Linked DNA regions of Homo sapiens: region 1 is linked to region 2. Evidence: promoter capture Hi-C in 16 types of primary human blood cells and fetal thymus (Javierre and others, 2016). All regions are on one chromosome and are shown on one strand. Each heading gives the region's core, a stretch centred on a gene start or on the middle of the fragment in contact. The rest is flanking DNA. Distances are from core to core; before and after follow the strand shown. Region 1 holds the start of IPO11 (importin 11). Region 2 holds the start of ARRDC3 (arrestin domain containing 3).

Region 1 (7,393 bases), core at 1,801-4,300, about 29 Mb after region 2:
GAACCCTCAGTATTTGGAGATAAAGTTTTTAAGGTGATTAAGATAAGATGAGGTTGTTAGGGTAAGGCCCTAAACCAATATAACTGATGCCATTATAAGAAAAAGAAACAGCAGGCCAGTGCAGTGGCTCACGCCTGTAATCCCAGCACTTTGGGAGGCTGAGGCGGGCAGATCACCTGAGGTCAGGAGTTTGAGACCAGCCTGGACAACATGGTGAAACCCGTCTCTACTAAAAATATAAAAATTAGCCGGGCGTGGTGGTGAGCGCCTGTAATCCCAACTACTCAGGAGGCTGAGGCAGGAGAATCGCTTGAACCGGGAAGGCGGAGGTTGCAGTGACCTGAGAGCGGGCCACTGCACTCCAGCCTGGGAGACAAGAGCGAGGCTCCGTCTCAAAAAAAAAAAAAAAAAGAAAAGAAAAAAAAAGAAAACAGAAAGATACAGCAGAGGTGCATGTACACACAGGATGACCACGAGAAAAGGCAGCAAGAAGGTGGCCATCTGCAAGCCAAGGATGGAGGTCTTACAGGAAACCAATCTTATCTGCACCTTGATCTTAGACTTCCACTCTCCAGAACTGTGAGAAAAAAAATTCTCTTGTTTAAGCTACCCAATATAAGGTATTTTGTTGTGGCGGCCCTAGCAAACACATGAAGGAAATATTGCCCGTAAGGAGAAAAAACTCAGAATATCATTAGAGATGGACAGATAGAGGTCTTCATGTTTGCAGGTGAAACAGAACAGAAAGCAATGAAGTTCCCACTCAATGTATTTCATTTCCTCTATGAAGCAGAAGGGAACTTTATCCAGTAAAGAGTAAAGAGGGGGCCGGGCGTGGTGGCTCAAGCCTGTAATCCCAGCACTTTGGGAGGCTGAGGCAGGGGGATCACCTGAGGTCGAGAGTTCGAGACCAGCCTGACAAACATGGAGAAACCCCGTCTCTACTAAAAATACAAAATTAGCTGGGCATGGCGGTGCATGCCGGTAATCCCAGCTACTCAGGAGGCTGAGGCAGGAGAATCACTTGAACCCAGGAGGCGGAGGTTGCAGTGAATTGAGATCGCGCCACTGCACTCCAGCCTGGGCAAAAAGAGCAGAACTCCATCTCAAAAAAAAAAAAAAAAAAAAAGTAAAGACGGGGCCGGGCTCACTCCTGTAATCCCAGCACTTTGGGAGGCCAAGGTGGGTGGAGTTCAGGGAGGTCAGGAGTTCAAGACCAGTCTGGCCAAAATGGTGAAACCCTGTCTACTAAAAATACAAAAATTAGCCAGGCTTGGTGGCAGGCACCTGTAATCCTAGCTACTCTGGAGGCTGAGGCAGGAGAACCGCTTGAACCCGGGAGGCGGAAGATGCAGTGAGCAGAGATCACGCCACTGCACTCCAGCCTAGGTGACAGTGAGACCCCGCCTCAAAAAAAATAAAGAGGAAAGGTGGTGGGTTAATAGCCACCATGATAAACAGGAGCAGTTAGCAGGGACACACAGGATTGTTAGGCTGCCTGTACAGTACCCAATAGACGTTTGTTATTGAATGAACACCTAATTGTCATTCATGAATTTTAGTCCGTTTTTAATATAACAAGCTCTGACAGTAACCAGCAAAAGAAAAGCACTGGAATGAGTTGGAATCTGGGTTATAAATCTAGGTATGTGTGACCTTATGCAAGGCACTTACCTTTCTGGGCCTCAGTTTCATCAGACTGGATAATCAGCATAAGATCACCTCAGATTAAAATAAATGATGCTATAAATTTTTATACCGGTTTGTGCATTACCTCAGTGTTCTTCAACTGTTACCAACCAAAGTAGTGCATCTCAAGATTTATTGAACATTCCTTTCATCTAGATAACTTGTTAAAATTGCAGATTTTGATTCAGCAGCTCTGGATTGAGCCTGAGATCATGCATTTCTAATAAACTCCCAGGTGATGCTATATACCACAATTTGAGTAGCAAGGGTAAAGAACACTGATGCAACTTAAGCTCTACAAAGCTTATAACTGTGGACTTATCTGTAATAAGTCTGATAGTCAGCAAACCAAACACACTACAGACTCACACCAGCACTAAATGTGTTTTGCCATTCCTTAAACGCTCTGAAATTAACAGTCCCTATTTGAAGCTGATAAAGAAAGGAAAAAATATTACCATCAATAACACTAAATTAGAAGTGAGGTTACATACATACACACACACAGGTACAAATATATAACACAAAGGTCAAAATCCAAATAATCAAACATTACCTTACCCAAAATTTGAATATTTTTATTGCTGAGAAAAAAAAATTTTGTTTCTGGAAAAATCTTCAGTGTATTTTAATAGCCACATGCCTACAAGGATCATGCTGCATTCTGGTTTGATTCCAAATGCAAATATATTCAAACATCACAAAATCTAAAAATTGTTCTATTAATGATCAGATAATCTTTACATATTTGTTTAAAACCTCTAACATTACCACAGCCAAATGTGTTTGTGGTGAAAATTCTCTTTGGCCTTAGAAGTTCAACTAGGGCGGAGACCACCCTCCTACCCTGAGACTATAATATATGGCCACAAGCCACTACTATAATTAATTGTTTCTACTATACCCTGTGCTAGGTTACTGCAGAAACAGAGAAAATACCAGTCCCATCATAACCAAAAGGGAAAATGTTTCTACTTTCACCGAAATTTTCCTCAGTGATGAAAGATGTAATATGTGTCATGCAATGGATGTCTCCTATAGAAGAGTCACCCTGCCCTTAATCTGAAGCTCCTCTACTGAACAGAGAAGTTTGAAATAACATGAAAATGGAGGAAGAAAATTCCTATCCCAGGAGGGGGAAAAGCATTATGGCTACAAACTATTCTTCCTTCTGAAGAATAACCGAAATCTGAAGGGCACTACCGCGCTACAACTGAGCTCGTTTAAATTATGGAGGGGAGGAGGTATGTCAACTGCAACCTTGGCACTAGTAGGTAATTTACCAGTCCTTGCTATTTAGTCAAATCACTTTCAGATAGTACTTCTCTCATTCACCAACATGTCACAAAATAATAAAGAAAAAATGACACACGTAATAAGCAAAAGTAGTTTTGCTGAATCACAAATACCCCCAAATATAAATCTACAGGAGTCGCTGAGCTTGAGAATTGGCGGCCATACCTCTCCATGAAGCTCCTCTCTATAAACGGACAACTACCTTCACTTTTTCATTAAAAGCATGTAAGGGTCTAATGTTTAAAGCTATCACACTATTGCTATTAGCAACAAGGTCGCGTGCGCAGTAACAATGCACAACGGTCTTATACTCGAGATAACCACTTTATCTCAAAATTTGCACCACCTATCCCCCAAGGGCAAATGCATCACCCAGGTCCGCAACCGCGGTCACGATGGGTACACTCGCCTCTGCTCAGCCTAGCATACGGTCCCTCCCACCCCGCACCCTGATTGCTCCACTACCATGCTGCCCACTCCCGGGCTGCCTCGGCCAGCCCCCAGTTCCCCGGGTTCCTAAGGTTGCGCAAACAGCCAAGTCTGCAGGCCGCCCTTGCCTCGCTACCGTTATCCCTCATCTCCTGGTAGCCCCACTTTCCTCCCGCCTCTCGGGACTCGGGTGCCCAACCCACTCCCTTCCACTCCCGCGCGCTCGGTGGCTCTCGGGCCGGGGCCTCACCGTTTGGTTCGGTCGGGAATTGCCCGGCCCTCCCGCTCCCACTTCCCAACACGAAGTGGCGTCGGTTGGTCCCTCTCCCCACGCTGCCAGACCCCACGCCGCCGCCTACTGATGCCGAAAGCGGCTTCTAGGAACACGCCATGTTTGGCGTCGCAGCTCCAAACGACGCGGACGCGCGAAAACTACGTCACAGGAGACCAGCGCGCATGCGACCGGCAGAGAGAGAAGGCGATAGGCGAACGGCGGGAAGGGGAAGGAGGGGCTTTGTCTTTGAACCAAAAGGCGCGGGGTATCCAAATCAGTTGTGTGCGCTTGCGCAGTGCGCTTGCGCAGTATAAAGAGCCAGGAGTCCGGACTAGCCGGATCTGTCACCATGGAAACCATAGGTCTGGTTTCTCCGACTCCCAGGGAGCTCAATTGTTTCCTGCGTTGATTGAAGCTTCAATCAGAACCATTTCACGCTTTATATTCTAGATATCAATAGCGGATCCGTCACAGCAGAGAAGAGTTATTTAAAGAATCTTACTCCCATCAGTCCACCCTCCCTCCCGCAAATATTTATTTTTTAAGTTACCCAAATTGCTTGGCGCTTACTCCTGAGTAATAGCAAGAGTGGAAAAATGTAAAAGGACATAAATCCAGTTCTGCTTGCCTCTGCTAAAAGCTAGCATAGTCACCTAAATTTTCTTATCCTTAAAAAGAGAACTTACTCAGGCGCAGTGGCGCGCGCCTGTAGTCCCAGCTACTCCAGATATGGAGGCAGGAGGATCACTTGAGCCCAGGAATTCGAAGCCAACCTGGGACATATAGAGAGTTCACACACACACACACACACACACACACACACCCATTTCAAAAATAATAAGGGGTGGGCACAGTAGCTCACACCTGTAATCCCGGCACTTTGGGAGGCTGAGGCGGCCGGACCACGAAGTCCGAAGTTCGAGACCAGCCTGGCCAACATGATGAAACCCTGTCTCTACTAAAAATACAGTAATTAGCCTGGCGCGGTGGCGGGCGCCTGTAATCCCAGCTACTCAGGAGGCTGAGGCAGGGGAATCGCTTGAACCCTGGAGGCAGAGGTTGCAGTGAGCCAAGATTGCTCCACTGCACTCCAGCCTGGGCAACAGAGCGAGACTCCGTCTCAAAATAAATAAACAAATAAATAAATAAATAAATAAATAGACTCCGTCTCAAAATAAATAAATTAATTAAAAATACACACCAACTATATATTTCTTAAAAATAATAATAGTAAGGCCAGGCACAGTGGCTCACGCCTGTAATCCCAGCACTTTGGGAGGCCGAGGCGGGCAGATCACCTTAGGTCAGGAGTTCGAGACCAGCTTGACCAACAAGGAGAAACCCCATCTCTACTAAAAATATAAAAAATTAGCTGGGCATGATGGTGCACCCCTGTAATCCCAGCTACTCGGGAGGCTGAGGTAGGAGAATCGCTTGAACCCTGGGGGCAAAGGTTGCAGTGAGGCGAGATCGCGCCATTGCACTCCAGCCTGGGCAATAAGAGCAAAACTCCGTCTCAAAATAATAATAATAATAGTAAAAGAAGTTGTAAGGAAATAGAGTGTTCAAAAATATTAATAATAGAAAACCTTTATTGCTAATTTAGAATATTCCAGGTACAGTTTTAAGATCTTTATGGGAATTATCTATTTTAATCCTCAGAACAACCCTTATGAGGTAGGTATTTTCTTTATGTCCACTTCACAGATGAAGAAACTGAAGCACAGAGAAGTCAAGTAGCCCACCTAACGTCAAACAGCTAGTAAAAGGCCATGTTAGGATTTGAACCAAGCTCTGCATTCCAAGAATGTCGATCACACAAGGGCTGTTTTTTAAAGTAAAAAGATAAAATTACCTAAACAACCACCAATGACACAAATGATTAAATCACAATACATCCATACATAATAAAATACAAATTGACCATTTAAAATTATGTTGAGGTCGGGCACAGTGGCTCACACCTGTAATCACAGCACTTTGGGAGACCAAGACGGACAGGTCACCTGAGGTCAGGAGTTCAAGACCAGCTTGGCCAACATGGTGAAACCCTGTCTCTACTGAAACTACAAAAATTAGCCTGGCGTGGTGGCATGCGCTTGTAATCCCAGCTACTCAGGAGACTGAGACAGAAGAATCGCTTGAGGCCGGGAGGCGGAGGTTGCAGTGAGCCGAGTTCGCACCACTGCACTCCAGCCTAAGCGACAGAGCGAGACTCCATCTCAAGAAAAAATAAATAGGCCGGGCGCAGTGTCTCATGCCTGTAATTCCAGCACTTTGGGAGGCCGGGGCATGTGGATTGCTGGAGGTCAGGAGAGCGAGACCAGCCTGGCCAACATGGTGAAACCCTATCTCTACTAAAAATACAGAAATTTAGCTGGGCTTTGTGGCAGGCACCTGTAATCCCAGCTACTCGGGAGGCTGAGGCAGGAGAATTGCTGGAACCCAGGAGGCAGAGGTTGCAGTGAGCCGAGATCGTGCCACTGCACTCCAGCCTGGGCGGCAGAGGGAGACTCTGTCTCAAAAAAATATATATTAATTAATTAATTAAACAAAATAAAATTATCTTGAAGTGTATTTGTTGACATGTTTACACATGCACAATGCATTGTGAAAAAAGAGGGTTGCAAAACATTATGTTCAGAATGTCCCACTTTTGGAAATAAATAAATGCCAAAATGCTAGGAGGGTTTATCACTAGTTGGATGGGTATTGTGACCATGCTTTATTTTCTTTTTGCTTAACTGTATCTTCTGATTTTATTGAAAGATAGTACTTCTCAGGCTTGGAGAGGTGGCTCACACCTGTAATCCCAGCACTTTGGGAGGCTGAGGCAGGCGGATCACCTGAGGTCGGGAGTTCGAGGCCAGCCTGATCAACATGGAGAAACTCCGTCTCTACCCAAAATACAAAAATTAGCTGGGCGTGGTGGCACATGCCTGTAATCCTAGCTGCTCGGAAGGCTGAGGCAGGAGAATGGTTTGAACCCGGGAGGCAGAGGTTGCAGTGAGCCGAGACTGCACCATTGCACTCCAGCCTGGGGGCAACAGAGCAAAACTCTGTCTCAAAAAAAAATAAAAAACAAAGATAGTACTTCTCAAATTTTAAGTGTTCATAGAATCACATAGGGATCTTGTTAAAATACAGTTCATGATTCATTTAGTCTGAGGTGAGGCTCGAGGTTCTCCATTTCTAAACAAATTTAGATCTATGTTTCCTGGTAGGTAGAATAAAAGATGTCCATGTCCTAATCCCCAAAACCTGTGAATATGTTACTTTACAGAGCAAAAGGGATTTTGCCAATGTGATTAAATTATCCAGGATAATCTTACTATGGGAAGATTATGCTGGATTATCCTCTAGGTCCAATGTAATCAGAGGGGTCTTTATAAGAGGGACGCTGGAGTGTCCAAGACAAAGAAAATATGCCAGTATAATAGATGTCAGAGGGATGCCAGGGCCATGAGCCAAGGAATGCAGAAAGCCTATAGAAGCTGGAAAAGTCATGGAAACTGATTCTCTTCTACAGCCTCCAGAAGAAACTCAGACATGAAAACAATTTTAGACTTCTAACCTCCAGAACTCTAAATTAATAAATGTATCTTGTTTTAAGCCACTAATTAGGTTTGTGGTACTTTGCTGAAGCAGCAATAGAATATATGCTCAAAAGTTATAGGCTCTCTAATTTGCTACCCTTCATTTATT
Region 2 (6,608 bases), core at 3,677-6,176:
AATGAAAGTTAAAATTTAAATAAATAAGAAAATAAAAACAAAAATAGAATGGGTTCTCAGGTTGCTTAAAGGCAGGGAGTTGACTTAATGACTTTAATGGGCCTCTTCAGCCCTTTCATCCCTGGGAGAGTAAAATATTTCAAAGTAGATATGCTATGCTATATAAGCTACATATCCTATATAAAATTATCAAAATGTTGGCCAGGAACGGTGGCCCACACCTGTAATCCCAGCATCTTTTGAGGCCAAGGCAGGCAGATCACTTGAGGCCAGGAGTTCAAGACCAGCCTGGCCAACGTGGTGAAACCCTGCCTCTACTAAAAATACAAAAATCAGCAGAGTATGGTGATGACGGCCTGTAATCCCGGCTTGAATCCAGGAGGCAGAGGTTGCAGTGAGCTGAGATTGCGCCACTGCACTCCAGCTGCGCAACAGAGCTGTCTCAAAATAAAATAATCAAATGTTTGAAAAAAAATTTAAAAAAAATTTTTTTGAGACAGGGTCGCACTCTGTCACCTAGACTGGAGTGCAATGGCACGAGCTCAGCTAACTGCAGACTCAACCTTCCAGGCTCAAGTGATCCTTCTACCTCAGCTTCCTGAATAGCTGGGACTAGAGGCACATGCCACCACACCTGGCTAATTTTTGTATTTTTTGTAGAGACAGGGTCTTGCTATGTTGCCCAGACTGGTCTCAAACCACTGGACTCAAGCAATCCTCCCACCTTAGCCTCTCAAGTTCTGGGATTACAGGCATGAGCTACCACACTCAGCCAGAAAATATTTTATTACAGCAAATAAAATTTTACCCTCATTATATAAAGTTGTGCATAGTCAAAAGTCAAAATTTATAAAGTAGTTCAGAAAAGAAATTTAGCATTCCTAATTCTTTCTGTAGACCAGATGCCATTTGAGCTTAGATGAATAAACTTTACCAACTCATCTTCTACATGATAATATGCACTGCCATAGCTTCACTGGCAATGCTCTTCTTTAGTTGTACATCTGGATGGAAATACACCAAAATGTTAACAGTGGTGTCTCTGAATGGACGGACAGTAGAATTATGGGTGATTTTCTTTTAATCAAGAAATAAAATATAACAGATTAAATGGTGTTCACATAACACAAATTATACTATTTATTAATGAAGGATATCAGAATCCAAATTTGATAGTGAGTTTCATCACAAAATCCATAACATATTTAAAAGTCTATTAAGTATGAAGAACATAACAAACATAATATGCGTTATGTTTGTAATAGCTCTCAAAGCTAAAAAACAAATACTACTCATTTTGCTAATAATACAGCAAGTCTTCTGTCCAGTCTGCATGCCAAATTTGCTGCACTGTGACGATATTAAAGAGTTAAGTCAGAGTTACAAAATCTTGAAATACAGAATTAAGACCAAAGGAAAAAAATCCCCCTTAGTCCCATAGCACTCGAGCCTATCAGCTGCTAGTTAAAATAGATTAAGCATAGATTTCATATTTTTCTTTATGAAACAGATTCTGACTACTGGTAGGTTTTTTTTTTTTTCAACCAAACACCAAAACTTCCAGTTGAGATGGCTTCCTTTTTTTTTAAAAATAAAAATATTGAGCATGTTGATATAATATGCAAAAAACTCCAAACTTGGCAGTAATCTTAACATATCTCCTCAATATCATACAACTTGACAGCAATGATCATTTATCAGTCTTTGATAGAGTTCTTGAGATTGAGTTCAAACTTTAATATATTAAGGTGAAAGAGCCATTTGACTCAAAAGCTAATATAAAAAGAGATTCCTACTTAAGCTCTGAAGAAGCAATGAAAGGGGAAGGGAAGCTAGTTATTCAGTCTAGTTGGAATTTTACTCAGTAGTGCCAACTGCATCTAGTGGAGGGATTAGAAAAAAGCAAAGGAGATAACATAGTAGTGGGATGTTATTCTGGGCACCAAAAGCACATGTAACTGCATACTGGCAACAGTGAGACAAGCTAACAAAGGGGACAGAAGATGTACTTGACAGGATTATAGAGAGTTAGCAGATGAGTAGGAGGAGATGGCATATGAGACGTAGGCTGGGGAGAAGTAGGAAAGAGCCTTGATGGTAAAGACGAATAGTTTAAATATAATACAAAATACAATAATGGCCCAGTGAAGCAAGCTGAGAAGCCCAAGATAATGTCTACAGTACAGCATTTCAAGCTGTCTAAGGAGTAGCTATTTAGACAAAAAATCTGAAAGGGGGAAGTTATGAAAGCGACAAGAGAAAACATTCAAAATTTGGTCCAAGCGTTTTTGTTTTTGTTTTTGTTTTTAAGAATTGAAAAGATAAAGCGAGACCAGGCGCAAGCGGCTCATGTCTATAGTCCCAGCACTTTGGGAGGCCAAGGCGGGTGGATCTCTTGAGGCTAGGAGTTCAAGACCAGCCTGGCCAACATGGTGAAACCCTGTCTCTACTAAAAATACAAAAAGTAGCCAGAGGTGGTGGTGCGTGCCTGTAATCCCAGCTGCTCCGGAGGCTAAGGCAGGAGAATCGCCTGAACCCGGGAGGCAGAGGCCGCAGAGAGCCTAGATTGTGCCACTGCACTCCAGCCTGGGCAACAGAGTGAGACTCCATCTCAAAAAATAAAAATATAATGAAAATGGCAGCTGGTAAGAATTTCTTGGAAATTTGCCAGTTACCTAAGTATTTAAGAAGACACAGTAAAAAGAAAATTTTAAAAATAGCAAAATAAATAATAAAGACAACTATTCAAAAGATCCTGAAAGCTTCAAACACAAAGAATAATGTACTACACAGTGACAGGAATGAAACATTTAATATTTTAAAACAATTTTCCAAACTACAAATAAATTTCTTAGACTTCTTTTTTATTAAATGCAATTCTGGTGTATTTATATAGCTAATTCTTATTTTTTCTGAAATGAGTTATATTCTAATTAAATAAATTTTACTAAAAAAATCCGAATTCAGCTGTTCACTAACCCTTAATAATTTTTAACATAAATGTAGACACAAATGTGCAATGAATTTATGTATTCATTATGGACTACACTTTTAAATCCATTCCTTGCTCAGTGGTTTTCGAATGCTTATTAAATATCATTGACCTTATGCTGAGGAAAAGCTGTCATTCTAGGAAATTCACCACTTCTACCACTAGGTGGAGAAAAAACACAAGTAGTATCTGTAATCAAAGCTAGTACAAGGCCCCAGGTACTTTACCTAGAATTTCCACCAGGTGTCAACCAAGAGGTAGGGAAAAGATAAGACTGTTTTTCCCACTTAAATATGCAAATTTATAATTTTATGCATAGCGATCTAAACTCTGAAATAAATGGCCTGCTCATTAATTGTCTAGTTTGCATATTTATACTCTTTATATATTGCTGTTGAGTCCAAGATATTGCCTTGTCAACTAAAATCCAACCCCCAAAAGCTTAGTTTCTTTTGAAATAAAACAGCAAGACCAATAAGTTTAGTTTATTGTGACTCATAGGCTCAACCTATCCATATACACTACGCAAAAGAATCTAAAACGTTTAGACACGGACAGCCAAAAATCTTCCAAGGTATTTTTGGTCATACATATATATATAGAGAGAGCACCAGATTCATATTTTTTCTTTCTACATTTCTCTTGTAAGGCAGTTCTGTTGATTGCCAGTAATCTAGATGAGTTTATGCTGTTATGCTCTGAATCCCAGTGTGATGTGACGAAAGCACTGCTATTTTTTACCAAACATTCACAATAAAAAGAGAAATGTACCTATATTTAAGATGTATCATGAGAATTACTACGTTAAATGGTCCAAGGCTCTCGGCCGAAAATTAAAGCTTCACACAGTTAAATCCCTATTTATATACCAAATCATGCTTTTTAAAAACAATTTTATGCGCTTCACTAATTTCTAACAAAGATTTTCCGATTCTGTTGCAAACAATATGTCAGCTAAACCACTATGTCATATGCCTTTTATAAGGTAGTACTTTTTTAGGCCGAACTCTATTCTTATTCCTCTGGACACAGGAGTTGTAATCATGTCTTACTCTGCAAATCTAGCCGTAGGTGGTGTCTTAAAAGGACTTTTTCTTCCTTCGAGGAAGTGATCAAGCTTCCCCCAGCCCCCACCCGTGTCATCCTGGAAACAACTTGGTTGTTTTTCGGTGCTAATTAAGCAATGTAGGAGAAAGAAGTTGAGGAGACAGCAAAGCCTATTGATTACATTGTACTTGCTTCTCTACCTCGCTCTTCAAAGGATTAAGGTTCCTTTGACCTCGACTGAGTTCATTTCCAACCTGCCTACAAAGTACTGGTTTAAAAAAAAAAAATCCAAGCAAAGTATGCTCTTGTCTATGAACAATATTTCTTGTCCGGTTTTATTACGTTTTCTTTGGAAATTCGTTAGATTATGCTCAACAATCGGCCGCTTGCCCAACCGGTTTCTCCCTTCCCCCATCTCTCTTCACACATCACTTTTTCCTCCTCCCATCCAGGCAGTTGGTAAAACGCTGCAGTGCCGGTAACGCACGCTTCGGGCTGGTCGCTGCAGTTTATCCTAACTTGGCTTTGCAAACTCCCCACCCAGCCCTTGTACCCTCGCACCCCACTCTGCCATTATCTTTCTAGTAGAGTGCGCTCGGTAACGGGCTCCAGATAGCACGTCGAGGGTATACGGTAGCCTGCCTACCAATAGGAGCCCACAATGAAGAGAAGTCAGGTTCAGCCGGCCAGCAGCTCCAGTATCTCCTTCCCCTAGCTCTACACCTACTGTACCCGGGAGCGAGCGGGCAAGGGAGCGAGCGCGGCGCGGCGCGGCGCGGGAGGGGGCGCGCAGGGAGGGCGGACAGCAGCCGCGGCCTGCGCCTGCGCACTGGGGTTGTTTTTCACAAAGCTGCTCTTAAAGTGAGCTGGCAGCTTTTAGCCGCCCGTCTTTGTAAGGAGACCACTGAGACGAGCGGGAGCGCGGAGCAGCAGCCTCTGCTGCCCTGACTTTTTAAGAAATCTCAATGAACTATTTGTAGAGAATCACTGATCCGGCCTGCAAGCATTTTGCACGGCAAAAATATCGATCAGTGTTAAGTGAAGATCACATTTTATATGCGATCTTGACTTTTTTGTCTTACATTATATTTTTATAGATTTTGTTATAAACATGGTGCTGGGAAAGGTGAAGAGTTTGACAATAAGCTTTGACTGTCTTAATGACAGCAATGTCCCTGTGTATTCTAGTGGGGATACCGTCTCAGGAAGGGTAAATTTAGAAGTTACTGGGGAAATCAGAGTAAAATCTCTTAAAATTCATGCAAGAGGACATGCGAAAGTACGCTGGACTGAATCTAGAAACGCCGGCTCCAATACTGCCTATACACAGAATTACACTGAAGAAGTAGAGTATTTCAACCATAAAGACATCTTAATTGGGCACGAAAGAGGTAAGTTTTTGTTATTCATAAGTCATTGGACTCATTTTCTTTGGAAACGTACCTTTTCAGTTTTCTGAATTAACGTGATTCTACTCCTAGCATAACTAAGCAGTTTGAGAAAGGTTAGCAAAGTTGGAAGGTTTGGATTCTCCTTGACGTTCATCGTGTGTTAAGCCGTAATGCATGCAGGCATCTGCAAAGTGACTGCAAACTACACTTATTCAGCTACCTCTGTACCCGGCTCGGTCTGTGCCACACGCACTTGTAGTCCATTTGCACCTTACTTATAAATTCTGTTTGAATCCAATTCAGTCGTTTTACTAATATATTTTCAAATGAATTGGTAAAAGCTGCAGTCTTAGATTTTTGCCCTTTTACTTGCAACCTAAGATGTAAAAACTGAACTTCGATCAAGAAATGTAATAACATTTTTAAGAGACTTAATGGGTGTGTTTCATTTTTAATATTGGAATGCAAAAGACTTTAAATAATTGATGACTGTTCTTTCATAAAAGATTTCTGTGGCTTATTTTGACATATGGTATCAACACCCCACGTGTTTTTTCTCTATTCTTTACCATTCCTTTAAAAATTTACACCCAGCATTCCTTATTTTAAAGGAATGACTATCTGTCATTATGATAGGTATCGAGTCAGGTTTAGAAGCCATTTAGGATCAGTAATTTTCTTTTCCGAGCATCATGTCTAACTTTGGAACGTGCATTCAATGAAACCCATGCCAGTCAAATGGAATTGAAAAGTATAGGGCACACTGGATTTGATTTTTGGTTAGAAGAGAGAGATAAAGGGTTGTCAAAAGGAGAAGGAGTCCTGAGATTTCCAATCTATTGTTTAAATGGTTACATTGTGGAAATATAGGAGACTCTAGGCTTGTTTTTCTAAGTTTCCACCCTTTGTTAGAAGCGGTTCAATCCTGTTTCGGACCAGTTCTGGGGGGTGGTGAGGAGGGGCGCTTGTTCTGCTCTCAGCAGATTGGTTACACGCGTCAGGTGGTGGCGATGACTTAATTCCTAGCCCAAGAAGAATATAATGTTAAAACTGGTTATGTAATTTTTGTGCCTCTCCTTTTTAATGCAGTATTTAGTTCAGATGTTGGCGATTTTTCAGAAAAAAAATTAGAGACATATTTTACCTTATTTTTTATATTAAAAACGTACATCCTGGAG

Evidence for each region. Contacts are between HindIII fragments. The CHiCAGO score rates a contact against its expected background, and 5 or more counts as called.
Region 1: a contact is called between a fragment that was not itself captured here and the fragment with the promoter of ARRDC3 in region 2, in 1 of 17 cell types (fetal thymus). The highest score is 10.7, in fetal thymus.

What each region holds. Positions count from the first base shown.
Region 1 is chr5:62,409,201-62,416,593 of GRCh38, reverse strand. IPO11 (importin 11) reads right to left here and starts at 3,831. Exons shown (of 30, transcript NM_016338.5): 1 at 3,665-3,831. RefSeq lists a silencer at 3,341-3,390 and an enhancer at 3,721-3,910. The HindIII fragment of the contact is 2,111 bases long and covers 1,995-4,105 here.
Region 2 is chr5:91,381,635-91,388,242 of GRCh38, reverse strand. It overlaps ARRDC3 (arrestin domain containing 3), which reads left to right and starts at 4,926. Exons shown (of 8, transcript NM_020801.4): 1 at 4,926-5,430. The coding sequence starts at 5,151. All of the region lies in intron 1 of ARRDC3-AS1 (ARRDC3 antisense RNA 1), which reads right to left. RefSeq lists enhancers at 4,160-4,459, 4,339-4,856 and a silencer at 4,710-5,019. The HindIII fragment of the contact is 1,076 bases long and covers 4,112-5,187 here.